7 separate regions of the Homo sapiens genome follow, and all the other regions are linked to region 1. Evidence: promoter capture Hi-C in 16 types of primary human blood cells and fetal thymus (Javierre and others, 2016). All regions are on one chromosome and are shown on one strand. The core of a region is centred on a gene start or on the middle of the fragment in contact, and the rest is flanking DNA. Distances in the headings are between cores, read along the strand shown. Region 1 holds the start of RGSL1 (regulator of G protein signaling like 1). Region 2 has its middle 27 kb from the start of ZNF648. Region 3 holds the start of LOC105371642 (a long non-coding RNA gene). Region 4 overlaps NPL (N-acetylneuraminate pyruvate lyase). Region 5 overlaps NPL (N-acetylneuraminate pyruvate lyase). Region 6 has its middle 65 kb from the start of ZNF648. Region 7 has its middle 6.6 kb from the start of ZNF648.

Region 1 (3,792 bases), core at 49-2,548:
GTTTACATATAATCTTGGTGAGCCAAGAAAGGTAGAATCTACTGCAATGGTAGAATTCATCACTATCTCCCTATACCATCACGTATATCCTCCATTATTACAATTAACAAGTCTGACTGTTTTTATCCATCGATATATCTGTCTTCCTCATCAGACTGAGCGTGTGAGAGGAGGGACTTTGTTTTTTCACCTTTCTTCCTCTAGGCTCTAAAAGTGTTTGCACAATGTCTAAGTTCTGTAAATGTGGAATAAATTGTTCTTTCAAAAGATAATCTTCAATCTTTTTTTTTTTTTTTTTTTGCCAAAGTCTCACTCCGTCACCCAGGCTGGAATGCAGTGGCAAGATCTCAACTCACTGCAGACTCTGCCTCCCAGATTCAAGTGATTCTTGTGTCTCAACCTCTCCAGTAGCTGGGATTACAGTGCATGCCACCACACCTGGCTAATTTCTGTATTTTCAGTAGAGATGGGGTTTTACCATGTTGGCCAGGCTGGTCTTGAACTCCTGACCTCAGGTAATCCACCTGCCTCAGCCTCCCAAAGTACTAGGATTACAAGGGTGAGCCAACGCTCCCAGCCAATGATTTTCAATCTTTTGGACTTTTGTTTGTTTATCATTCATAGAGTCTAACATGGATTTGTTGAATGAGTATATTACTGAGCCCATCTGAATACAGAAAAGTGGGGTTTGGCAGAAATTCCCTAGTGATTGTTGTTCACAGCTACACACACCGCTGGTGGCAAGGGGCCTGACTATGCTAGGGCTTGCCATTGCCAAAACAGTCTTAAGGAGATATAGAGACAAGGCTCTGTACATCCTTCCCTTCCTCATCCTCTCATTTCTCCATTCTTGTTTTTCCTTCTTACCTGTTCTGCCTTCAAACTTCCTAATAATTTGAGAAGGCTTTTAGCACCCATTCCACGCCATAATAATATTGACTTGGCAACAAATGAAATCACTGCATAATCTCAAACCCCATACCAGTCTTCTCTCTGGAGGAGAGGTGGCCCAATCCACATTTTACTTCCTCCCTCTTGCCTTAGTTGTCTTATGAATAAGGCCCTGTACTATCCTCAAAGATCTGGTGGCAGAAGGTAGGAGGAAGGGGAAGAAGGAGAAAGAGAAGGAAAACAAAGGCATGAATAACACAAAAGTCACCCATGGTGCCCCTGAATGGCTCAGATCTATTAACAATTGGGAAGATGAATGGTTTGCCTTATTTGAGAGACTCAAGGCCTTGGAGACATCCCTGGCAGAGACTCACCAGCACTGCTCATGTTGCCATGCTCTTCCTGACACAGTAATTTGTTAGGGGCAGAATTACCCCCCAGTCAATAGAACTATATCCATTGTGAACACGTAATGACACCTTCTCTAAGGGGTTCCAGATTCTATCTGGCAGTGATCTACTTACCTCTGGTGTAGGCCTTAATCTGAAGATAAGTCTTTATCTTACCTAATCTGCTGAATCCCCTTGGACATACAAGACTCCTCCTATACTTAAGCCTTTAGTTCATACTATTTTATTTGACAAGTTCTTTATAATTGTGCCCAAGATCTCTTGTCTGCTCCAACCTCTCCCATGCTAGGGTGACTTTTGCATTGCTAAACTCAGCTCCTAAGGGTCTTGTAAACGGTTACATTTGATGTAATTTTAATAAGCAGTAACTCCTGGATATTCTGCCCATTTAAAACATCAACCTCCATTGCTTCAGCCCAGGAATTCAAGGCTGCTGTGAGCTGTGATCACACCACTGAACTTCAGCTTGGGCAACAGAGTGAAACCTCATCTTTAAAAAATTAAAATTAAAACATCAGCTTCCAAGAGGTTTGAACTCCCTTCCTCTGAAGACTCTTCAGGCTCTTGGTTTTCTCATTAAACAACTCTTCATTTCTCCTGTTCTTCCCTAATAGGAAGTAAATATTAAGATGAGAGACCAAAAGCCCTATAATCCTTCAAACTTTAGCCAAGAATTACTGAGAATAGAATTCTTCAGTGTCACACCCAGAGAGGGCTTTTAAGTCTTGGGATTGTAGGGAAGCTTATATAATGTCCAAAAGGCTTTCCTATGGGGGGTGGAGGGAAAACTGAAAACTGGAAGGATTATTGTTAATAATGAATCGTCAATACAATATCACTTACATTTGAAAAAGTGCTGTACTTTCTTTAGAATATATAAAGACCAAATACTGCATTTTAAAGTGATTTTAGTGAGAAGAGATTCTTGCTTTACATCTTGATGTTCTATGTATTGCAAGATGAGATTGTAGCTTACCATACTTCTTCAATCTGTTATCAATTACCTTATTCACCTTATTAATTAGTCAGTTTAACATGCACACATCTTAAGAGAGTTCAGTGTGAAGCACTGCATGATTCTACAATATCATATTATTCCTTGAATTATCACCTCTTTTGCAAAATAAATAGAGTCAAGGTCTCCTCCTAAAATAATGGCATATACAGTAGTAATATATGCTCACATTCCTTAAGATGGAATGCTTTCAGACTGTTTTCAATCAAGCTGTGTGCACCTACCCTTGAGTCCTAATTGCTGCCCCACCGTCTTTCCCACAGTTCAAAAAGGCTGACTGTTGGAGCCATTAACAACCAAATAGGGTCACTCTAAAAACAGTAAAGATGAAAAGCCAGTATCACTGGCTAAATCTTGAAATGCATAATGGTTAGATCCCTGACCCTTTCATGACCTTCTAGTTCCCAAAAGAAAAGGGCACCAGATGTCTCCCAAATGTGTGGTAATAAGAATTACCTTATTGACAGGGTTGTTGTTAAAAACCTAAATTGCCGGGACCGTCCCCTGGCAATTCTGATTTAGAAGGGGTGGGGCTCAGGAGTCTGTATATTTTCCAAGTGCCCCCAGATAATTATTATCATCAGGTAAATATAGAAAATATTGGGGCCAGATGCAGTGGCTCACGTCTGTAATCCCAGCACTTTGGGAGGCCAAGGTGGGTGGATCACTTGAGGACAGGAGTTAGAGACCAGACTGGCCAACATGGGGAAACCCCTTCTCTACTAAAAATACAAAAAAATTATCCAGATGTGGTGTTGCGCACCTGTAATCCCAGCTACTCAGAAGTCTGAGGCACAAGAATTGCTTGAATCTGGGAGGCAGATTTTGCAGTGAGCTGAGATCGTGCCATTCCACCCCAGCCCGGGCAACAGAATGAGACTCTGTCTCAAAAACAAACAAACAAACAAACAAACAAACAAACAAACAAATAAATTGGTTTCTAAATGAAATAGAGCTGCATTCACATCTCAGATCTGACATTTACTAGATCTGATCTGGTTTGCAAAACTCTGGGCATCTCCTTTTCCCAAGTGCACAGTTACCCTGGAAATGACAGCAGGTCTCTTTGGCAAAGATTAAGAAGAATATTCACCGTAAATACTTGCAAAATATTACAAGATTCTTCCTAACTGGTAAAATGCTTTTTTTTTTTTTTTTAAATTTCAGAGCTTCTAGGTCTGACTCAGGGCTGAAAATTGGATGAGGGACCTGATTTTCTACCATGATGGCTCATTTTAGGCTCCTGTTCATTCACTCAACAAATATTTATTGGGCAGGTCTATGTGACACAAACTGTTCTAGGTGTTTGTGATGCAACACTGAATAAACAGTCTAAAATCCTTGCCATCACAGAGCTTATACTTTCCAGTAGAATCTTATTGAATGAACACACATTTTTTAAGGACCCCATGATCAATAACCACTATAAAGAATCTGTGGGTTAGATCATTCAGATATCCACACAGGCTCAACTGC
Region 2 (4,083 bases), core at 864-3,363, 360 kb after region 1:
TAAGAACCTCACAGTGGAGCTTTCTGGGACAGTGGGTGTGGCCAGGGGCCCTGGAGATGTGGCAACTAGTTTGTCCTATTTGGAAGTAATATTAAACAACAATAAACACTTACTTATAAAGCATGTACTAAGTGCCAATCCCTGTTCTGAGTGCTTCACACAAATTAACTCAGTGAATCCATAAACAAACTCTGTGAGGTGGATGGCATTCTAATCCCATTTTACGGGTGAGGAAATTGAGGTCTATGGAGGTGAAATATCTTGTCTGGGATGCCATAAGTAGCCTGAGGTGGAGTTCTGGCCCCTGAGTCCATGCGTTAGGACCCCAAAGAGCAGGGCTGATTAACACTCACCAACAGAAGGCAGGAAAAGGCTTGCTTCAAGCCTGACACACAGTGAATGCTAATTGCACCTTGCCTCTCCTCTTCCAGCCGGTTGCCATGCTGGGATTCTGTAGGGCAACTAGCACCGTTCCAGGTTTCAAAGAAGGAGGTGGCCTTTGTGTGGTGTCAAAACACTGAATTAGAAATCAAAAGACCTGTGTCTCCGTTACCTTTGTGGTCTTGGGCAAGTCACTTAAGCAATCTGACTTCTAATTTCTGCATCTATAAAAGGAACATATGCCCCTTATAGGTAATAGGGAAAGCCTATTACCACTGTCAGCCCTTGGTAGCACTTAAATGAGTTGGTTGAGTATGGATCTGACCCAGGATTCAATTCTAGGTGGATGAGATATTGTGGGACAGGTAGGGGCCTCTCAAGTGGGAGGGACTGTAGTGCATTAGTGTTTATTTTGAGCATTGATGCCCACAGAACTCATTGCACTTGGGCCATCACCTGCTCCAGTCCTCAAGAACAAAAATCTTACCGTCCCTGAGCAGCCTAGAGCAAGGTCATACAGATGACGTGCGGGACAAAGCCTCACTTGGGCAGAGGTGGCTCTTGCCCGCTCAACTGTGAGATGCAGGACAAGCCCTGAATCCCACAGGGTTTACCTCGAATGCATGCCCTGGGTTAGTGAGTAGTCATCGCTGCATGAGGAGTCCCTGCCCACAGCTGCTTCCACCGTCTGATCATTCCCCAGAGACCACATTCAAACCCCAAAATTGGAGCTGACAAGTTCTTATTTTTCTTTATTTTGTAATTGCTGTTACTTCTGGGGCTTGCAATGAGAGGAAGGATTGGATAATAGGCTTCTGGCCTGGAGAGATGAGATGGGAATCTAGTTAGTCTTTTGGCCTCCACATGAGGTTTTCATGGATTTCATATTCACACCTCATTTGGGGTCTGAGACTGTGGGTGATTTTGTCCCCATTCCTGCCCACATCTGTCCAATGGGCTGTTACAGTTCTTGGGGTCCCCACTCTCTGGACATGGTCATGCTCAGCAGGCCCCTACTCCCTGACTCCTTGAGCCAAGAAGGCCATTCATGTGGTTTCTCTGTGCTGCAGGGCACTGTGTATGTACAGGGAGCACAGGCCTTAAAGGAGGGGCTGTGTCTTTGTTGAGGGTGAATGTGTGATGGATGCATGAGGTTTCAGTCATGTCAGCCAGTGCCCATTTAAGCAAACACCCAGGACTAGATGGAGCAGGAAACCATGAGCCTCTGTGGCTGACTTGGGAGATACCTTCTTTCTTTACAAGTCTGTTCTGGAGTCAGTGGTGCTCCTGCCACTTCAGCTGGGCTCAGGACACCGAGTGCAAGATGCAGTTTCAGGATCTGGAATCCACAGCGCTAGTGGGCTGCTCAGGGGAGGCTGGGAGAGGTGTTTCTCTCGCAGATGCCCTGGATGGCATGGGTTCTGCTAGGTGGCTTGGTGAAGGAAAGGGCAGGATCCGTCTCACACATTCCAGGCACTGTGGGGGTCAAATATGAAGAGCAAGCTTACTTTTTCCCTCTGATATTTCTCTTGCCTTCTATAAAACAGAATGTATATTCCCTTCCTGCCACTCATCAGAGCATCTTACAAATATTGACTCTGTGTGCTAAAGGCCTACCAGGGCTGCAAGGGCCCAGGGAAGCTCAGCCGAGCTCTAGGGCAGATGTTAAGGAAAGGGAGGAAGAGGACCTCTCTCAGGGCTCCTGTCACAGAGATGCTAGGGAAGCGGCCATCAAGAACTGCCAGAACAGCTTCCTTACAGCCAACGATGCTAGCCATGGCACCCAGACCCAGGTTATGGAGCCCACTGGCTCTGCGGATTCCAGATCCTGAAACCGCATCTTGTATTCGGTGTCCTGAGCCCAGGTGAAGCAGCAGGAGCACCACCGACTCCGGAACAGACTTGTAAACACACTTCATCTAATGGATGGGCCCAGCTCTGTGCTAGAATTCAAAGCTTAAATGAGACTCGGGCTTGCTATTGAGGAGGCACAAGTCAAGGGGAGGAAACAGGCCCCCAAGCAGAGATAAAGATATACACGGTGCTTCACCCAACCCACAGGCAGGAGCACCCTGTGCTTCTCTGCAAGGTCAGCAACTCAGGGGATGCGACCTCTGCCACAGCTCCACAGGGTCACTTCCCTTACTTTCGGAGGAGCACCCATTGGGCACTCAAATCAACACCCTGGGTTTAGCAGCCACTCTGTGATCCCAGCAGCACGGGGTGCTGCTGGAAACCTAAACATTTATTCTTTCACTCAAAACGCTGAGCGCCTACCAGGCGGCACACATTGCACTGAATGTCAGAGCCAGAGATCCTAAGGCTCTGAGGTGGGGAGGACAGAGCTGGAGGCAGATTACACACCTTAAAATGTGGGTGCAGAGGTGGGCAGGGAACACCACTGGGATGTGCCCATGAGGATGAGCCAAGACGGAAGAGCTGCGACTTGTTTACCAAAAGGCATTGACGACTCGATGCTCCGTCTTCCGTGGGAATTCACCCAGCTTTGTTCAGATGTTACTACCTCTGCCCTTCCCAGTTCCTACCCCATGAAAGGGCATCTGAAGGTGCTGACATCAGAAATGGCAAGTCAGGACACACGCAAGTTCCACAGGGCTTCCTGCTGCCCCGCCCAGCCTCTTTGCAGCCGCCTCCTGCAGCCCCAGGCACAGGCCTGACTTTGGTACAGTTGAAGTAATGCCCCAGTTTTGCCCTGGGCTGGGACTGCCACCTGGGGCAATAAGGGTGGTTGTTTTCCCCTGTGGTTGCCCTCCTGGTTACCTTAGTGACTCATGGAGGCAGTGGGCCAGCCTGGGACAGAGGAGCAGGGGTCTGGTCCAGGGCCAGCCTGGGGCTCTGATCCGCGGCTGCCCCAGATGTCCAGATCTGACCAGGAGCTATGAGGGAGGAGCCTGCTCCCATATAGCCATAACTTTTCTGTTCTGAGCTCATCAGTGTGGCCTGATAAAGTCTACAGAGAGGCCCTCAAGGAGGAAGAAAGAAAAGGCAGGGAAATATACTTTTTTTAGCTAGAGCTCCATCAGCGAGTACAGAAAGAGAACATTCTCCTAGGAGAAAGCAAGGCATACTCTGTCCTCAAGGTGCCATTTTCCCCAAGCAATAGAGGCAAGGCCAGATGAGCTGTGGAGGGGTGGAAGATGAGCTTGTGGCTCCCCACCCTGTCCCTTGCATGCACACCCACCCTCAGGGGCTGCAGCTGGGGTGGCTGAGAGGGGAATCCCTGGTTCAGGCTTTCCTTGTCTTACACAAACTGAGAAGGAAGCCTTGAGAATGCTGGTAGTGCATGCAGGGTGGAGCTGAGAGGGCGGAGAATGAGGTTTTTCACCCACCCTGTGGGCCCTCCTGTTTCCTCCACCCTCCCTGTAATCTCAAAACATCCTGACTTCACTGAGCAAAGGCCCCAAGCTTTTCATGGAAGAGCAGCAGCTTGCAATAGCCCCAGAGTCTGAAGATAACATCTCCCTTGCGGTGGCAAGAAAAGGCAAGGGTGCTCAGGAGAGTGCAAAAGTCCTCAGGCCCCAACCAGAAGTTCTGCCTCTGAGGTCCTCAAAGACACGGGCTCCATCTCCTGCTGTTCCCGCTTTGATTTTAGGGTGTTGCTTTGCTGTACTGGTGCCAGTAGCGGCCACACTGCAACTCTGCTTCAGGCACAAGGATTGGGGTGGGACCCTGTGTCCGCTC
Region 3 (3,562 bases), core at 603-3,102, 340 kb after region 1:
CCTATCCTCTGGACCCTCAGGACCCTGCCACTGCCATCCACTTTCTACCTCCACTTAACGATCTGGCACAGCAATAAAAGAGGCCTGTAGGGAGAGGGCATGGGGTGAAGGAAAGAGATAGAGGAGGAAAGGTAAGGTACTGGAGTAAAGAAAAGAACAAAGGGTGGTCTTCCCTTTTAGACGTTCTTTATATCCCATCTGCAACAAATGTACAAGACCTAGTGACACATTCTAGATCATGTAGGCATCTAGGATGCCTTTGTCTTTGTAAGTCACAGAGCCTGTGGATGTGGGTTCCTGTGAAGGAACAAAACATGGTCTGGTGCAGTAAGCAGAGGGCAGCACCATGGACAGTCATCCACCTGTCTTCTAATCATGGAGGCACGAGCGCTAGAAATATAGTAAGTAGCAAGGAGAGGAGAGGAAGGGAGGGGGGAATCTTCTTTCTCTGTGGAAAGAATCATGCACTCTGAAAAGCAGGACTTTCGCGTTCTTCTCTGGGGGTGGTGAATACCGTTTTTGGAAAATCAGGAATGTGATACACATGTACAAGAAAGGAATGGTCATCCCTTACCCTCTGGTCTGGAGGTACCAGGCATAGCCTGTCACATGCTTCTCTTCCTTCTGGACCACTTTAATTATTCTTTCTTTCTCTAGCTTCCCAGAGGCCCTGAATAAATATCTCCTGTGTTATATTCACCCAGTAGCCTGGAAACAAAGAGTTTAAAACACTCTGACTTGTCATTTCTGTCTGCCATAAAGAGCACATCAAGAACCTAAATTTCTACTTTTTTACAGAAAAGGGATTAAATAATACTTCTGGTTTGAGCTCAGGTCATTAGGGGTGTTCTCATTACATATTCCTGCATAAGAACCCCTCCAAAAATGTAGTGGCTTAAAACAGCATTTGTTTCACACACAAATCTGCAGTTTTGGCAGGGTATAGAGAAAATAGCTCATCTTTGCTCACCTGGCATCAGCTGGAGCTGCCCTGAAGCTTCATGACAGACATGCAAGTGAATGAGCCTTCAGAAGTTTCCAGCTCCCAGCCTTTGTCTGTCAGTTCACTGGGAAGATGCAAAAATGAGAGCTAAAATAGCTGGGGTTCATTGGGCCTCTCTCTCCCTCTACATGATATCTCCACATGACCTTTCCAACATGCAGCTTCAGGGTAATTGGATATCATCATAAAGAGCAGCTCAGTGTTCCCAAGGTGTGGGTTGCCTCCCCGCCCCCGCTCCCCGCCACACATTTTCACTCTATTATCCAGGCTGGAGTGCAGTGGCACAATCTTGGCTCAATGTAACCTCTGCCTCCTGGGCTCAAGCAATCCTCCCACCTCAGCCTCCCAAGTGGCTGGGACTACAGGCATGTGCCACCAAGCCCAGCTAATTTTTTTTTTTTTTTTTTTTTTTGAGACGGAGTCTTGCTCTGTCACCTAGGCTAGAGTGCAGTGGCGCGATCTCGGCACACTGCAAGCTCCGCCTCCCGGGTTCACACTATTTTCCTGCCTCAGCCTCCCGAGTAGCTGGGACTACAGGCGCCTGCCACTGCGCCCAGCTAATTTTTTGTATTTTTAGTAGAGACGGGGTTTCATCATGTTAGCCAGGATGGTCTCGATCTCCCGACCTTGTGATCCGCCCGCCTCGGCCTCCCAAAGTGCTGGGATTACAGGCGTGAGTCACCACGCCTGGCTACGCCCAGCTAATTTTTGTATGTTTAGTAGAGACAGGGTTTTGCCATGTTGCCCAGGCTGGTTTCCATCTCCTGAGCTCAAGTGATCCACCCGCCTTGGCCTCCCAAAGTGCTGGGATTACAGGCATGAGCCACCATGCCTGGCCAGGTTGCCTTTCATAACCTAACTTTAGAAGTTATTCAGTATCATTTCCATGACACTATACCCATTGAAGCAGTCACAAAGCGAAGGGGAGATGGACTTCATTTCTTATTGCAGATGGAGGTGGCAAGGTTCCAGAACAATATGTGAGACTAGAAATATAGCTGTGGACATTATTTGAAAATTCAACTTACGACAAGGGTTAAATCAATGGAGGGGACACAAATGTGTTGGGTTACTCGTTTCTGAGCTGTCAGACACTGAACTAATGAACTTTTCTTTTGCCTTTTGGGGGTTATAAGTTGTAAGAGAATAAGCAATAAAACCAAATGGAGAACCAGTCATTTGTAAAAAGCATTCACTCCCTTCTTCCCTGGGTCGCTTCTTCAAATCACTGGCAATAGGCATCACCATTATTGTTATAAAGCTAAGGGAAGCTGGGGTTTTTAGAGCAAAGGTGAGAAAGTTGATAGCGATCGTCTGGATTAATCGCAGGGGGCAGAGACCCTCACTAGCTACTGCTCCAGCAACTGAAATAACCAACTAGGGAACTTATCATTTCTGCTGAGAGAAGAGTTTTACTCTGAGGTACCAGGGAGATGGTTCCATGACATAAATATAAGGAATTGGTTAGGATGAGGAATGAATAAAGGCATAAAACAATGTACGTTCCAATCCCACTAGGAAGGAAGGTAACATATTAATAACGATAATATATTAACAAATGGAGCACCATCCTACAGAACACTGAGTCTCTTTTGATGGAGAAGATGAAAAAAATGTCAAAATATGTGAGGGCCCCAAAATGAGCAAACGAGAGCTCAGTATCAACGTGCCTATCTTGCTGTGTTTAAAAAAAAAAAAAGCTTTGAAAATAATATGATAATCACCCATTTATAAGCTAGAAAATATAATGGATCTTTAAAATATAATATTCATAGTTATAGATATTATTTAAAATTAAGAGAAAAATACACTCAAGGAACAACAAAATAAACCCCACCCATCGAAATGACTAAGACACCTAGACAATATAAATTCTAATTTTGATTAATCTTAATGATTATTATTCAATTTAGTTTTTCAAACTGTTACTAAGGGCCTATTAAATGCCACCATTAAGCTGGAGTGCTTCAAGTTTCTTACAGATAGGTGAGGGTGACAGTCATAAAAAACTGATTATGTGGGGTGGTCTTGTTTTGTTTGTTTGTTTGTTTTAGACGGAGCCTTGCTCTGTCATCCAGGCTGGAGTGCAGTGGCAAGATCTTGGCTCACTGCAACCTCCACCTCCCGGGTTCAAGCTATTCTCCTGCTTCAGCCTCCCAAGTAGCTGGGATTGTGGGCATGCACCACCACATCTGGCTAATTTTTGTATTTTTTGTAGAGATAGGGTCTTACCATGTTGATCAGGCTGGTCTTGAACTCCTGACCTCAAGTGATCTGCCTGCCTTGGCATCCCAAAGTGCTGAGATTACAGGCTAATTATGTGTTTTGATGACACTTTGCCATAGGAGCATGTGGAAGGGCCACTTGGACTAGACTCAAGAGGCAGAAGGTGATTCTTGAAGAATAAGTAAAGTTTTAAATAGGGGGAGAAGTAAGGGAAGAGAAATTCATGCAGAAGGAACAGCAGGAATACTTGGAAGTGTACGTAATATGTTTGGCAGTTTTAGACCACGGACCTCACAAAGGTGAACAGTGGAAAAGGAGGTTTGAGAGATAGGT
Region 4 (3,764 bases), core at 1,192-3,691, 370 kb before region 1:
AGACAGAGTCTCGCTCTGTCACCCAGGCTGGAGTGCGGTGGCATGATCTCGCCTCACTGCAAGCTCTGCCTCCCAGGTTCATGCCATTCTCCTGCCTCACCCTCCCAAGTAGCTGGGACTACAGGCGCCCGCCACCACGCCCGGCTAATTTTTTGTATTTTTAGTAGAGACGGGGTTTTGCCACGTTAGCCATGATGGTCTCAATCTCCTGACCTCATGATCCGCCCACCTCAGCCTCCCAAAGTGCTGGGATTACAGGCGTGAGCCACCGTGCCCGGCCTTAGAACCTCATGCATCTTATTAAGAGATGCATTTTCAATAACATTTTATATTTAAAAGTATTTTTCAAAATGCTTAACATATTTGTTTTAACTGACTGTATACTAGAAATAAAATGTAGAATAAAATTTTAATACCCAGAGACTTACAAACATATATGTTCTACCCCATGAACAATATAGCACATTACATTTACTATCTTATATTTTGCTGCTTTTTTCCATTTAACATAGCATGTAGATCTTTCCAGGTCAGAATACATAAAGCTATCTCATTTTAAGAGCTATATATAATTCAATTGCATAATAAAATGTATTTAACCATTGCCTTATGGATGAATATTTGGGCTGTTTTTATCTTTTGCTGTTACAAACAAAGCTGCAAGGAATATCTTTGTACATGTGTAATTTCACTCATGTAAATATAACAGATGGCACTTAAGTACATTAAAGTGAATGAGATAAATTTAGCCCTAACTTTTTGTCTGCTTCTTCACTTGACTACAAGCTCTTTAAGAGCAGAAACCACCTTTACTGAAATTATGTACTGAGTAAATAAGACTCACTCACACGTGCTTTCTTAAGAAGAAACAGAGAATGTGGTAAAATAAGTTCCTTACCAACATTGTTTTCAATGGGATGATTTATTTGAAACAGAGAGTGGTAAACTAAGTTCCTTACCAACATTGTTTTCAATGGGATGATTTATTTAGAGTGGGACTAAGAGGGGAAAAAAGATGGAGACTAGATTAACCAATAAGAGAAGTCACTGAATGGAAGGGTCAGCATTATAGCTGCTTCAGTCTACTCCATCTATGATTTCCATGTTCTGCTCAGAACAGGTTAGAATTTTCAGAAATAACCTTTTCTAGGAAACTGGGCAGGGTGGAGAGAACCATCAATGCAAGGAGATGGCAGAGTCTGCACAATTCATTCTTCTCACCCTTATCTAAACCAAAGTCTTGTCGATGTTTAGTTTATTTGGCACAGCTTCCTAGATCCCTACCCTGTTCCTGTTCTTAGCTTCACTTGGTCTGAGGACAAAGGCGAATATTACATATGGTATTTAAACTTTAAGGAGGAAGTAGATTTATGATGGCTCAACTTTGAGGCCTACGGGTAGGGAATAAACCACTCTGGATTCTGCTTCTTCATGTTGTCTTTGGGTTGGGGCTGCAGGTCACTTCCTTTAACCCCCAGGATACTTTGTACTTCTGATCTGTAATCTCTGATTACCCTGATGGCAGCCTGTCCTGTTCAGAAAGATCCCACAGCCAAGCTTTATTAGGACCAACCATTTGCTCCAATCTTGCTTCTGTCTTTCCATTCCCACTTATTTTCTTGGGATACTCCTCTCAACCACTTATACTATCCTGAAAATCCTCACGCCTCTCAGACCCCAAAAGTCTTGCTCTCATATCCACCCTACTTTCTTCCAATTCATTCCATTTACACTTTAGAACCATGGGTTAGAACCAGATGTTAGCTGGGCATGGTGGCGCATGCCTGTAGTCCCAGCTACTCAGGAGGCTGAGGCGGGAGGACTGCTTGAGCCCAGGAGGATTCAAGGCTGCAGTGAGCTATGATCACATCGCTGCACTCCAGCCTGGGCAACAGAGCAAGACCCTATCTCTAAATAAAAGACAACCAGTTGTTGAGACTGTTCCACCCTTCACTGAGGCTCTTCTTTCCCTGATGGCTAGGCTGTCCTCCATGGAACATTCACAGCAGCCACTATGTCCTCTGGGGTCTTCCGTGCAACATATCAGCTTCTGCTGGTTTTTCCTTCCTGTCTCAAATCCTGTATCTACTTTGGATCACCCACTAGGCTCTTATTTCCTTCCTGGTGGATGTTCCTAGTTCTCAGCACATTTCCAGGGTGGACAAGACTGACCTGCCCTGACTTTGAATGAAGCCTTCCCCATTTTAGGTTACCATCTTCATAGCTTCCTCATATTCTGTGATAACTCTGATGTGATGTCCTCAAGGGGACAGCCTGTGGTCATTTTCCCAGAAATCTATGACCATTTTATTATAGTCACAAAAGTACTTTGAAGATAGAGTAAAAATAAGATCCTTTCTAGGAGGAAGAGAGGAGCCATCCCTGTATGGGTCCTGTCCTGATTAGACATGTCGGGAACACAGACAATGGGGACAGCTTTGGTTTTAAACAAGAAAAAGTACAAAACAGAAGAAAGGTAAAGAAAGAAGTGGCTGGGCAATTTTAATGAGGGCAGGCATGGTAGAGAGAAGAAAAAGAATCCTCAAGTGGGGAAGAAAAAAGGCTGTGATTTATGGGAAGAGAAGAAAACGTTTACCTGATAGTTCAGGGCTAAAGAGAAGTCCTTTTGTTCAAAAGCCTCCAACATCTGGTTTGTCTTTTTTCCCAGGTAGTTATAGGTACTGGCAAGACAATAACAAATACTGCAGGTTCAATAACTCAACAGGAAAGGTCCAGATCTTCAAATCCCTCTGCTGTTTAAAAGGGAAAAAATACACCTAGTCCTCCTAAAGTCTGTTTTTGAATCCTAATCTATTAGGGGACAAGACTGTCTTCAGTTCTGAGTTTTCCAGCAATACTGAGCAGTACTGCAGAGAAGGAAGACAGGCAAAAGGGGATAAAGGAAGAAAATCAGAAAAAAGATAAAAAAGATGGAGGTGTATTTGTTAGGAAGCGACTGAGGCCAGCTCTTGCCCTAGGGTACACACAGGTGCAATGCTAGACAAGAACTGTGGATAAAAGGTAGCATCTGAGGTGAGTCCTAAAAGCCTTATGCTGAAAAACTGGGTGGATGGAGCACCATGAAAATAGGGGCAAATCCCAATAAATTACCTATATTCCTTGCTAATGTGTATATTACTTAAAGACTAGTTTCTAGATAGTAATATTAATAATGATGATAATAAAATGAGGGATCATTTACTAAGTGCCTATTATATTATAGGTGCTTGACATAAATCATGTCTAATCCTTGTAAAACCCTGCAAGGTAGGCCTGGTTTTTATTTTGATTAAAGAAGGGCTTCAGGGTTTCCATGAAAGCTTTCCATTGCTTCATGTTGTCTTCTATAACAATTCAACAAAAATGAAGGTGAGAATTTGATCTGACAAAATATTTTTGTGGACTTAAAAAACTCTCCAACTCTACCTATAAAGATAAATATCTTAAATAAGTCACTGAATTCTTAGAGAAACCAGCAAGGTAGAAGGTTATAGAAACTCATAATAAGGATATTTCCCCAAGTTCTTTAAATTCAAATGGCTTCTCTCATAGTAAGTCGGTATCAGAAAAAGTATTTATCTTGATGTACCACTAACAGAAATGTTGTTGGACTTGTATATATAGAACTGGGGTCAACAGCAAGGGATTCCAGGAATGTGAAGCTCATGTTATCTTGTGGCAATAGAGCAAGGAAGAACAATGTCTGAGGAGTTTCAGAATACTAACATTTGAATCCCAATGGTCTTAGGTGTATCCCTGGTTAG
Region 5 (4,142 bases), core at 1,615-4,114, 350 kb before region 1:
CACCCTGTTGGAGGTGGAAAATGTTCTGTTCTGGGAGTCTGGGTCCCCTCGTCTCCCAAAGACTGTTAAAAAGACAATAATCTATGCCAGTCTGACTCTAGCAGGCCAGGCCTTTCCTCACTGGGGTAACAGCTTTGTTTTTACCAGAGGGTATTGTGAAGATTCCCCAGGGTGATGCCAAGAACATTTGAGGGAAAAAACACAACTTTTTTCTCGACATTTTAGATCTGAAATGGACTTTCTGGTCTAATGACTGTGAGCCTGCCCAAAGAAAAAGTGAGTTCTTAGAACAAATAAGGAAAGCAAGTCTTGGCTGGCGCAGCTGCTCATGCCTGTAATCCCAGCACCTTGGGAGGCCGAGACGGGCGGATCACTTGAGGTCAGGAGTTTGAGACCAGCCTGGCCAACATGATGAAACCCCGTCTCTACTACAAACACAAAAATTAGCCGGGCAGGGTGGTGCATACCTCTAATCCCAGCTACCCGGGAGGCTGAGGCAGGAGAATCACTTGAGCTTGGGAGGGGGATGTTGCAGTGAGTCGAGATTGTGCCACTGCACTCCCGCCTGCTGCGAGACTTTGTCTCAAAAAAAAAAAAAAAAAAAGCAAGTCTTTCATTAGACTTACTAGTGTATAAAAAGGCAAGGGTTGGATAGGTAGAGAAATCCTACCTTTCTAGCTGTGTGGCTTGGGGCAGCTGGGCTAGCCTTTAGGATCTCCGTTTCTTCAACTGCCAGGACAGAGATACCTATGGCTCCCTCACATAGCTGTTGTCAAGATTAAGTGGGAACATGTAAATGAAAATGCCTGCATGATGACTGACATAGCATCAATCAGTGTTTGCTTCCTTCCCTTTTTCTCGACTATCAGCACTAGTAATTCCTGCAGTATATTCACTCATAAAATAACAAAAGCTACCACAACTATGCCACATGCTTAAGATATAAGATAAATAAGATAATTTCTCAGTTCTTGTATATTATTGGCATTCAATATCTATTGAACAGGGCTAAGCAGCTCAAAGCCTGCTGGAAGACATAGACAAGTAACAAAAAGTTATTGTAATAATAAACAAATAATTCTGATGCAATACAAAAAGGGTGCTATGGGATCACAGGGGAAGAGTATGGACAGGGTGCTATAGAAGGGTCATCTAACTCCTTTTAAGAGAATTGGGGAAGAATTTCTAAGGATGGTTTTGATAGATGAGTAGAAGTGTTCAAGTGGAGCAAGAAAGAAGAAGATGGTGGTAGAAAAAGGCAGAGGAAAGAGAATGAGTGAAGGCATGAAAGGCAGAAGAGGTATGGTGACAAAGAAATGAAGCAGGAAAGGTAAACTGTGAGGACTTCCTATGCCATCCCAGGGAGTCTGGGCTTTAATCTTTAGACCGGCTCATCTCAGACTTTAATGCGCTAAAGAATCATCTGGGACACTGTTAAAATGCAGGACTGATCTGTAGTATGATACAGCCCGAGCTTGTGCATTTCTACCAAGTTCCCATGGTGGTGGAGCAACTGGTCCATGGGCCATATGATGGGTAGCAAGGCTTAGACAAAAGAGAGTCAAGATTCCTAAAGAGGAGAGTGACATGATCAGATTTATTTACTAGGAAGCTCACTGAGCTACAGTGTGGACGATGGACTGGAATTATAGGTACTTTATACATTCTTATTTAATGGTGATCCCCACAATATCCCCAATGACATGAGAGGACTGCAGACTCTTAAGAGTTGGAAAGGGTCATAGAGATAATGTGGTTGAACTTCCTTTGGAGAATATGAAAGAGCTTTTTTTTTTTTTTTTTGAGACATATTCTCACTCTGTTGCCCAGGGTAGAGTGCAGTGGAATGATCTTGGCTCACCGCAACCTCTGCATCCCAGGTTCAAGCGATTCTCCTGCCTCAGCCTCTTAAGTAGCTGGAACTACAGGTGTGCGCCACCACGCCAGGCTAATTTTTGTATTTTTAGTAGAGAGGCGGTTTCACCATGTTGACCAGGATGGTCTCGATCTCTTGACCTTGTGATCCGCCCACCTCGGCCTCCCAAAGTGCTAGGATCACAGGCATGAGCCACCGTGCCCGGCCGAGAGAGCTCTCAAAAGGTGACAAGATCTCCCCAGGGTCGGAGAGCTAACTAGTGGCAAAGCTTGGGATCCAGGACTCACATCATTTCACTAAGATCTACTTACCCATGTTCTTTCTGCCAGCTACCCTACTCCAGGACATCAACTTATATGCAGAAAGCTGAATTGTTACTGAGCTTTCATTGGAATTGAGAAGAAAAAAGGATATAGGGAAATAGTCCTTGTTCAGCCACTCAGAATTATGGAGGATATGTATATGTACATGCCAGGTTAGGAGAACTCCCACAATGGCAGGTCACCTGGCAGTATTTCCAGGTATTAGATTCCATGTGCCCCTTCCTTCCATCTCATGTCTTAGAAACATGCCAGAAGTGCAGATTCCCTTGTGGGTAAGTACATTAAAGCCTACGTGTTCTTGGTGGGTGTTCCAAAGCTACTTTATACCTACAGGAATGTTTGATGAAGCAGGTGGTGGGAGAAAAGGGAACTAACATGGCTCACATGCCTACTCTGTGCTATACACTGACCTACACTATTTATTTCTTAAAGAGCCTACACATAATGCATTCTTTTTTTTTTTTTTTTTTTTGATTTCACACCTTAGGAAAGTAAGGTTCCTAGAAGAAAAACGCAGAATTGATGAGAAAATAGTAAAATGGATGCAGCAGGACCACAGATTTTTGGGAAACGGAAAAAGATCCAGAAAAAGTCATTTTAGTTATCTCTATCATGGGATCTGGCCTTCCAGGAAAACGGCAAAACAGGGAGGAAGAACACACTGACATTGTCCGTGGGTCCCTGATGAACAAACAAGACTGTTTTAAGAAGCCACTTCCAGGATAAGAGGGGTCTTATTAAAAGGTTAAAGTAGTATGGACCAGATGCAGTGTTAGGAGATTACAGAAAGGATCTCACTCTGTAACAGGAAGTAAATCCTGCCGATTCATGCAATCACATGTCTTCTGTTTGATCTGCGAACAAGTGACTGATGCATTGAGAAACAGCTGATGCCAGTCTTTCTTAAAACTTGTGGAAAGGGGAAGTAACAGAAAAAAAATTATTATTAACCAGCTGAGTAATCTAAATGCCGTATCAGCAAGAATCTTATTTAGACCTAGTAAGGACGTGATTTTTCATGGATCTTAGAAGCCAGAAGTCTTGGACTCATTGGAGAGTCTCTAAGGTAGAACTGCAAAATGGCCAACTTTGAAGGAGAATACTAAAAGACATGAGAAATTTCATCTCCTTTAAAAGGGTAAGATGAACGTTTATAAATTCAGCAACAGAAGACCAAAAAGAAAGTCCCTTGTAAAAGGTGTACTAAATACATCTTCCTTTTGCCTCTGCCTTATGACATAAAGGCAGTTCAAACTTTTTGACCTAAGTGCGTATTGACCCTGTGCCAAGCACTGTTGTATGAATTATCTCATTTAATGCTTATAATTCATTATGTAGGTATGATTATTATTATAATATTACATAGAAAGAAAGGAGAAGCTTAAATAAGCCAGCATTCTAACTTTTTGGCAGCCTGACTCCTCTGACAGGTCAAAAACATATAGATCCAGGAGGTGGATGAACTCTCTTTTGTCAGGGGTGATGTTCAAGGAGGAGTTATACACAGTGCATGGCTCCCTATGTCACAGGGCCTTTTTGTTATCTGATTTTTTAGCAGAAGGACTGCCACTGTATTCATCTGGAGGTCAAAATACTTGCTTGGGGTAATGATTAGTCAACAACGGACTGTTGTTACTTCCCTTCCCCCGCTGCCCAACATCTAGTCAATGTTGAAATGAGGCTGTAAACAGGAAAAAAGAGTCCATCTTGCAGATAACCTCCCACTTTCCTCAGGGTAGGACATTTTTATCAAGTCTATGAACAGCCTGAAGTGGAATCATGCTGACGTCCAGAGACAGCATCCTGAGAGGGCCTAGGTCAGTGCTTGATATCCAATTATGCTAAAATGGGATTCTCATCCAATGCTACTGGCCCTGTTTAGAAAGGCCAAGGCTGTGGTGAAATCCAAGGAGAATTTGCTCTGTGGTGCTACAGACACTGGG
Region 6 (3,604 bases), core at 314-2,813, 320 kb after region 1:
TGGGAAGGGACATCAAATTTGAGACTACGATTAACTCTCAGTTTGAAGACAGCTTTCATGACATCTGGGATTCCCAAAGAACCACCAGTTACCAGGCTTTCTGTAAGAGGCCTAAGCTGAGACTCTCATCTCCAGGGATAGGCTAATACTAACATCATCAAAACAGATATGCTGTGTCCTTCAGTTTAGAAAACTGACTTCCCCTGCACAGTTTCACATTGTGCTCTCTACCTGGAGGCCAGGTTTCTCATCACCCCTGCCACTCACTTGAGCCTCCCTCCATGGCTGCTGACTTCTTTCTTTTCTTTCCCTGGGTTTATTGCCCTTCTTGCTGCCTTCTCCACTTTGCTATTTGAAGATGATTGCTGATGGAGATCAGAAAATTTTACATCAGCACTTTGTATACACTGGAGGAAAGAAAATAGAGAAAGGGAAGATGCAGCCAGCCATTTCTCTGTTTTACCCGCAGGCCTGGACAGCAGCCTTTTCCACTTGCCTCCTCCGACCTGCAGTCTGAATTCCATTACCAGGACAGGGCTTGCCCCAGGGAGGGGACCTCCTTCTAGAGCATTCAATGAAGCTGCAAGTATGTTGGTGTCCACAGTCAGCAGAACCTCTCATGACCATTTATTACATACCTGGGATCCTCTTAGATCTGTCAAATAGGAATGGTACTGTGGAGCTGCACCAGCTGGCGTGTAGCCTCAACAGCCTAGGGTGCTGCCTAGGGAATAGAGGGGCTTAGAAAAAGAGGTGATTCCTCTACAGTGACACACCAGAGGCAAAACCGAGGCTCATTTCTACTTGTATTAATCTCTTTTTTTTTTTCCTGTAATCTGTATGATTGAAGGATTGAGAGGAGTATTCTGCATCTTTTTAAATGGCAAAATAAACTGTTCAGGTATCCACTGTTAAGGTAGAGGGGAATGTGGTGTTGCAAGAAGAAAATTGCCCTGCTAGCACAGATATGAGAAGACAACAACTCCCAGAGCATGCAGTCAGCACCATTACTTTCCCTTAACTCCCCAAGGTGCCCTCCTTGCATTTATCTTTCTCTCCTACATTGATCTTCACTGGAGAATAAAAATTAGAGACAGTGAGGAATTGCATGTGATTTGTACTGGGTTCCTGGATCCACGCCCTCCTTCCTAGCCCTGTTCCTCCAGGCTGGCTCCACTGTGGCCTTAATAAACAGAGGGTGGGGGGCTGATGAAGACATGCAGAGAAGACTTGACTGCAGTCTGTGGTGTGGGCTGGCCTGGGTACAAGTCAGCAGAGGCACATTCCATCAGTTGGCAATGTTATGAGCATAATAACTTCCTTAAGTGATACAGGTTGTAGTCTTGTAGCCTAAGTTCTACAGAGCTTCTTTAAAATGTTTTCTAAGCATGTTCAGCAATGGCAGTTTACTATTAGTAATATAAATCATAGACCAGTCACAATGTTGTTTCTTTTTAATATTCCCAATTTTCTTACACTAAGTCTCTGACCAATATCAAAAAAAAAGATTCTTCAATTCATATCATCCTAATCTAAATGAATAAGTCTATGAAAAATGGCTGTTTCCATATTAGCTTCTTTGGACTACTTTGGAGCAGTTTTGGTTTTCGACTCTAGCCCCTCTCTTCCATAAAGCAGCCCTGTTAAAAGACTCTGTTTTAGATCCCTGATTTTGGCTACTGGTGAGAACCATCAAGGGAAACAGCCAGCCCTCTGTGTCTGTCCCACCTACAGACCTGGACAGTGGCCTTCTCCACTTGCCTTCTCCGACCTGAAATCTGCATTCCATTCCAACACAGGGCCTGCCCCAGGGAGGGGACCTCCTTCTAGAGCATTCTTTCCTACAGTCCCTGATGTCTGTGTTCTGAGATAAAGCAAGGCTTGTACTCCATCCTCTTTGCCAAGTATCTGCTTATCACTAGGCAAGGCAAATATTATTGGATGTTTCAAATTACCACTAATCAAATTCCAGTGCAGTCCAAATCATCTGGTTAATCATTTTGAGCAGTCCTGGTATTGACAAGCCCTTGAAGGAGGTCAACAGCTTCAATGAGGATAAATATCAGCATGCCCTTTTGTACTGAATGTGTGAAATTGACATTCAAAGATATAAGCTCCACCAGGGTAGGAATTTTCATCTGCTTTTTCTCTAATCTATCCCCTAGATACACCTAGAATGCTACCAGAACACTACCCAGATGAGTGCCAGGGACATAGTAGGTATTCAAGAAATGATTCTTACTATTTTTTTTGCAATTTATTTAAATTTTATTGTATATATTTAAGGTGTGCAAGATGACATTTTGATGTACATAGTGAAATGGTTACTGTAGTCAAGCAAATTAACATATCCATCATCTCACATCATTACTCATTTTTGTGTGTGTGTGAGGCAAGAGCAACTAAAATCTCTTTTAGCAAAAATCCCCAATATAATACAATACTATTAGCTGTAGTCTTCATGCTGTACATTAGATCTCTATACTTGTTCATTCTACATATCTGCTGCTTTTTATATTTTGACCTATATCTCCCTATTTCCTTCCTCCCCAGCCCCTGCTCTTGTAATTACTTTTTTATTCTCTACCTCCGTATATTCAACTTAAAAAAATATTTCATATGTAAGTGAGATCATACAGTATTTCTCTTTCTGTGTTTAGTTATTTCACTTAGCATAATGCCCTCCAGGTTCATCCATGTTTTTACAAATGGCAGGATCTCATTCTTTTTTAGGCTGAATAGTATTCCATTGTGTATATGTACTACAGTTTCTTTAGCCATTCGTCTGTCAACAGACACTTTGATTATCCTGGCATTGCGAATAATGCTGCAATGAGTATGGGGGTGGATATATTTTCATCTCTTTCAGGTATATACCAAGAAAAGGGATTGCTGGCTCATCTGGTAGTTCTATTTTTAATTTCTTTCAGAACCTCCATACTGTTTTCCACAGTGGCTACATGAATCTACACTCTCCCCAACAGTGTAATAAAGTTACCTTTTCTCCCCACCCTCACAAACACTTGTTATCTCTTGTCTTTTTGATAATAGCTATTCTAACAGTTGTGAGGTGATACCTCATTGTGGTTTTGATTTGTACTTCCCTAATGATTAGTGATGTTGAACATCTTTTCATATACCTGTAGTCATCTTTATGTCTTTTTTGGAGAAAAGTATATTCAGGTCTATTTTTTGATCAAGTTATTTATTTTTCTGATACTGAGTTGTACAAGTTCTTTATATTTTTGTATATTAACTCCATATCAGATATATGGTTTGCAAATATTTTCTCCCAATCTATAGGCTGACTTTTCATCTTGTTGATTATTTTCTTTGCTTTGCCAAAGCTTTTTAGTTTGATGCAGTCCTATTTATTTTCGCTTTTATAGCCTGAGTTTTTGGTGTGATATCTAAAAAATCCTTGCCAAAGTGAATGTCAAGGAGCTTTTTCCCTATGTTTTCTTCTAGGAGATTTTGGTTTCAGGTCTTACATCTGGGCCTTTTATCCAATTTGAGTTTATTTTTGTGTATGTGTGAGACAAATTCCAATTGGATTCCTCTGCATGTGGAAATTTAGTTTTTCCAGCCCCTTTATTTTCACATG
Region 7 (3,879 bases), core at 161-2,660, 380 kb after region 1:
AGGCACCAGGCTCCTGATACCAGCCCCAGCTCTGATTCAGTGCTCTTGGTGCTGTAGTTCAACTTGTCTACACTGTCCTATGCATAGAGCCAGGCTGGTGAGCCTTCAGGAATGTCCTGGGATCCTCGGCAGTCCCGTTTTTCCTGGTAAAGAAGGACTGCACATCACTGTGCAAAGGGCCTCTGCCATATCTCATCCTCCCTCCCCTCCTAAGTGAGAAAACCTGGCTGAAGAGCAGAAGCTTGCTCTCCAGAGTAGCCATGCCTGGAGCCCTCACACCTCTGCCCTTCCCTAACTAGCCTGGGCACCTGGGGTGGAGGTGGTGACAGGTGGGTGGGGGAAGCGTGTCAAAATAGAGTTTTTGTCTCTGCAAGGCCAAGGACTGGGTCTGGCCCAGGCACTTTCATCTGATGAGGCCCAGCTATTAGCAGATTGTTGATACTTTTTATTCCAAATGTAAGATTTCAATTCTACATATGTACAAGAATGTAATTTGCTTCATTGATGTTTTCAAACATGATGACATAAAATTGCTCAAAGTATGCCTTTATATTTTTATACCTTACTTATATTTTATTTCTTTTTAACTCACCCAGCCCCCACTCCCCATTAGATTTGCCAGAGGTTTTCATGGTCTTTTCAAAGAATAGACATGCTTACTGTTCAATATAGGCAAAACCAGGCCACAGCTCATCCTGCCAGGAGAATCCACACCTACAGAGGGATGCCGCACTCCAGCAGCCCTATAGGAAATTTCTTTCAAGAAACTTGCTTCACACCCGTGGCCAGAGTGCTATGAAGAGAGGTCCTCTCTGGTTACGTTCAGTGCAGCAGTTGAAAGAGGAAAAGGGAGTATGTTTTTATGGAAACCTCAAATGCCCTTCCACATCTCCTGTGAATTACCTCTGTGTTCAGGCAGCCGAGCTAGACAGCTGCGAGGAGAGGCGTGTGGTTTTGATGGGGGCCTTGGAAAGAAAAGGCCCCTTGTACCCTGGCCAGCGCATGTAGGTGGTGTGACCTGGGAGGACAGCGGAGCCAGGAGCTCCGCAGCTGTGTCAGAAGCCAGGCTCCCAGCGGCAATGTTCCAGGGAGCCAAAGGGGGAGCCAGAGAGCCGGGAGGCTCCAGCCTGGTCCAGAGAGAAAGAGACAGCACCTGCCCAAGGCGGTAAGCAAGGATCAGGGAATATGGGGGAGAATTCTGGACGGTGGCGAGCCCCCTGCCTTTCCCTTCCTCTCTCCTTCCTTCCTTCCTTTGTTCCTCCCTTCTTTCTTTCTTTCTTCTAAGAACAGAGAGGAAAATTTTCTTTTCTTTTTCCTTTGAGACTCGGTCTCACTCTGTTGCCCAGCCTGGAGTGCAGTGGTTTGATCATGGCTCACTGTAGCCTGAGCTTAACTGATCCTCCTGCCTCAGCCTCCTGAGTAGCTGGGACCACAGGTGTGTGCCACCACATCCAGCTAATTTTTAAAAATTCTTTGTGAAGGTGAGGTCTCCCTATGTTGCCGAGGCTGGTCTCGAACTCCTGGGCTCAAGGGATCCTCCCGCCCCAGCCTCCCAAAGTGCTGGGACTACAGGTTACAGGCATGAGCCACTGCACCTGGCCCCAGATTATTCTTATGTACAGCAGGGTTGATGCAATGTACAATGTTTTTCAACTGTGTTTGACCAAGAATCAGAGCAAACCAGACTATGAGATACAGTCTTCATTATATACCCCCAGACTATGTTTATAAACCTAAAACAAAAATTACATGAAACTATACTTTTATGTGTGAGACACTTTGATATATTCTACTGTCTTCTGTTCTATTCTAAAAAAGAATGTTGGTTGTGGCTCACTAAAGTGATTCCCTGTCATATTCACAGATTGTGTCCTGCAGTCTGAAAAACACTGACATAGTAAAGCTCAACAAATGTTTGGTGAGTAAATGAATGATCGAACAAATAAATGAATACTTCAATCTCAACACCAGTAAAACAGAGGGGCTGCACTAGATAATTTCTTAGATCTCTTCATTAAAAATACTGAGGTCGATGCCTTTGTTTTTAAATTTCCAACAGCTTCATCATGCCCCTGGGCTCTGGTAAGCCTCAGTTCAAGGGATTCCCACTGATACAAGAGATCAGAGGGTTCTTTTTCAATGTGTTTATTACGTAAAGATAAGCAGTATCTTCCCTTCTAACCTCCCCAGACCTTCTATCCCTGAGCCCAGAAGGACCAGTAAAGTCAGAACGTAAACCTAAGGTATAGAAGATTCCCAGAAGTCTCATTTGTGGTGTTCTTCCTCAGTTTTCTACAAGGTCCCAAGGCTGAGGTGGAATGTGGAGGAGTGGAGGCCTGAAGTCTCTGTGGCCTTGAAAGATGTGGTAGTCAGTGTGGGCCAAGATAATATGCTGCTATGTCAGTAGACAATTTGAATCTTCAGCCTCTTGTACCCTGAGGGTTCCATGAACCCATCCAACTGCTTGCAGTGAAGCCCAACCCACTGCTTGCAGCTTATGCTCCCTCGGCCTGGGCCAGAGGCTTCCAGGGTCATCTGGCAGGGTCACTATAGTGCAATGTAGGTCTTGAGAAGCTTGGAAAGGGCTGGTCTTCTGGTGAGCTCCAGAAGTGGCTCCAGAGACCACTGCCTCAGTAGGACCTGGTTATACTGAGTAAGGGCTTCAGAAAGTTTGAGGAAAAGGTTCCAGTGGAGACCAGAGGTGGGTTCTCTGGGTTCTCTGCTGTTTAGACAGGAGGTAGAGGTGCCTTCCTACCCCATATTATATTGTTAGCTAATACTGATTGGGCACTTGTCCATCCCTTGTACTCTGCAAAGCACATCATCTCATTTAAACCCCACAACAACTCTGTAAGCTAGATATTAAATATTATTATTAGCCATAATTTACAGACAAAGAAACTGGGGCACAGAAAGGTTAAGCAACTTGCTCACAGTCATGCAGGGTGTAGAAATAGGATTTACCCAAGTAGCCTGATGTCAGAGCCTGTATGCTCCATCACTACACTGTGCAGTCTTCACTGGGGCAGGTGGTGTTGAGTTAGTGAAGAGAAGGCATTCTACCTGGCACTGTTCTGCAGGGGGTGCCAGGAAGTACTGACATGTGATGTCATTGCCTTATAATGTCATCCCATCCAGAGCACAAACCTTCCACTCTGTCACTGATTGCCACGTGTGCCAAGTGTAGCACGCGATGACAGACCCAGGTTTATGACATCACTGCTCTAGGAACGTTATTGGCCTCAAAAAAGGCTGCTTGGTCAGTCTCTCAGTGGGAATGTTTGGGGCTAGGAGACCAGAATCAGAGAATGGCACCCTTCTGGAAGCAGAGTAATTAAGGGCTAGCATTCTGGAAGAACAGGGATGGAGCAAAGGTATCAGCAAGCTCCCAATAGCTCTAGGATAAAAATAATAAGGCTTATAATTTATTGAAAAATGACTATACAGCTAACACTAGACCAAATGCTTTTAAAATGTGGTTTCAGATTATTTTACAACCCTATCATGAAATTATTCTTATTCCCATTTTATGGGTGAGGAGCATGAGGCTCAAAGAAGTTAAGTAAATGGACCAAGATCATCAAACAAACAGAAATGGGATTAAAGCCAGGCCTTTCTGACTCAAGGTTGTGTACTGAGTTCCTGTCCAATTCTGCTTTCTGCATGTGTATTCATACTCAGCAAAGTTTGATGCCTGCATGAAAAACAATATTTAAAGTCTCCACCATGTATTGGCCACTTAACTGCCTCTATCACTCCTCCTCAAGGATGATGAAGGGCTGGGGCAAGAAGAAGATTAGATAGTATACCTCACCAACCATTCACACTGTTTGGAAGCAGCTCAGGCAGATTGCTGTGATGACAGCTGGCAGCAGAGCA

Evidence for each region. Contacts are between HindIII fragments. The CHiCAGO score rates a contact against its expected background, and 5 or more counts as called.
Region 2: a contact is called between a fragment that was not itself captured here and the fragment with the promoter of RGSL1 in region 1, in 9 of 17 cell types (M1 macrophages, M0 macrophages, M2 macrophages and 6 more). The highest score is 13.1, in M1 macrophages.
Region 3: a contact is called between a fragment that was not itself captured here and the fragment with the promoter of RGSL1 in region 1, in 2 of 17 cell types (neutrophils and erythroblasts). The highest score is 5.4, in neutrophils.
Region 4: a fragment that was not itself captured here is called in contact with the fragment with the promoter of RGSL1 in region 1 in 3 of 17 cell types (M0 macrophages, M1 macrophages and M2 macrophages); the score reaches 7.1 in M0 macrophages.
Region 5: a fragment that was not itself captured here is called in contact with the fragment with the promoter of RGSL1 in region 1 in 7 of 17 cell types (M0 macrophages, M1 macrophages, naive B cells and 4 more); the score reaches 14.3 in M0 macrophages.
Region 6: a contact is called between a fragment that was not itself captured here and the fragment with the promoter of RGSL1 in region 1, in 3 of 17 cell types (neutrophils, M1 macrophages and endothelial precursors). The highest score is 5.8, in neutrophils.
Region 7: a contact is called between a fragment that was not itself captured here and the fragment with the promoter of RGSL1 in region 1, in 3 of 17 cell types (neutrophils, erythroblasts and monocytes). The highest score is 5.8, in neutrophils.

Annotation. Positions count from the first base shown.
Region 1 is chr1:182,447,652-182,451,443 of GRCh38, reverse strand. RGSL1 (regulator of G protein signaling like 1) reads right to left here and starts at 1,298. Exons shown (of 22, transcript NM_001137669.2): 1 at 1,266-1,298. The coding sequence starts at 1,278. RefSeq lists an enhancer at 853-1,460. The HindIII fragment of the contact is 4,233 bases long and covers 1-2,045 here.
Region 2 is chr1:182,087,139-182,091,221 of GRCh38, reverse strand. No RefSeq gene overlaps it. Among named protein-coding and RNA genes, the nearest start is that of ZNF648, 27 kb to the right of the region's middle. The HindIII fragment of the contact is 453 bases long and covers 1,887-2,339 here.
Region 3 is chr1:182,107,619-182,111,180 of GRCh38, reverse strand. LOC105371642 (a long non-coding RNA gene) reads right to left here and starts at 1,110. Exons shown (of 3, transcript XR_922341.3): 1 at 971-1,110. The HindIII fragment of the contact is 1,706 bases long and covers 1,000-2,705 here.
Region 4 is chr1:182,821,032-182,824,795 of GRCh38, reverse strand. It overlaps NPL (N-acetylneuraminate pyruvate lyase), which reads right to left. Exons shown (of 13, transcript NM_030769.3): 11 at 2,597-2,681. Among named protein-coding and RNA genes, the nearest start is that of DHX9, 16 kb to the left of the region's middle. The HindIII fragment of the contact is 1,763 bases long and covers 1,560-3,322 here.
Region 5 is chr1:182,794,696-182,798,837 of GRCh38, reverse strand. The region is part of intron 3 of NPL (N-acetylneuraminate pyruvate lyase); the gene reads right to left. Among named protein-coding and RNA genes, the nearest start is that of NPL, 7.0 kb to the right of the region's middle. The HindIII fragment of the contact is 1,435 bases long and covers 2,147-3,581 here.
Region 6 is chr1:182,124,793-182,128,396 of GRCh38, reverse strand. No RefSeq gene overlaps it. Among named protein-coding and RNA genes, the nearest start is that of ZNF648, 65 kb to the right of the region's middle. The HindIII fragment of the contact is 3,573 bases long and covers 1-3,349 here.
Region 7 is chr1:182,066,356-182,070,234 of GRCh38, reverse strand. It overlaps a transcript of ZNF648 not described here. Among named protein-coding and RNA genes, the nearest start is that of ZNF648, 6.6 kb to the right of the region's middle. The HindIII fragment of the contact is 2,333 bases long and covers 244-2,576 here.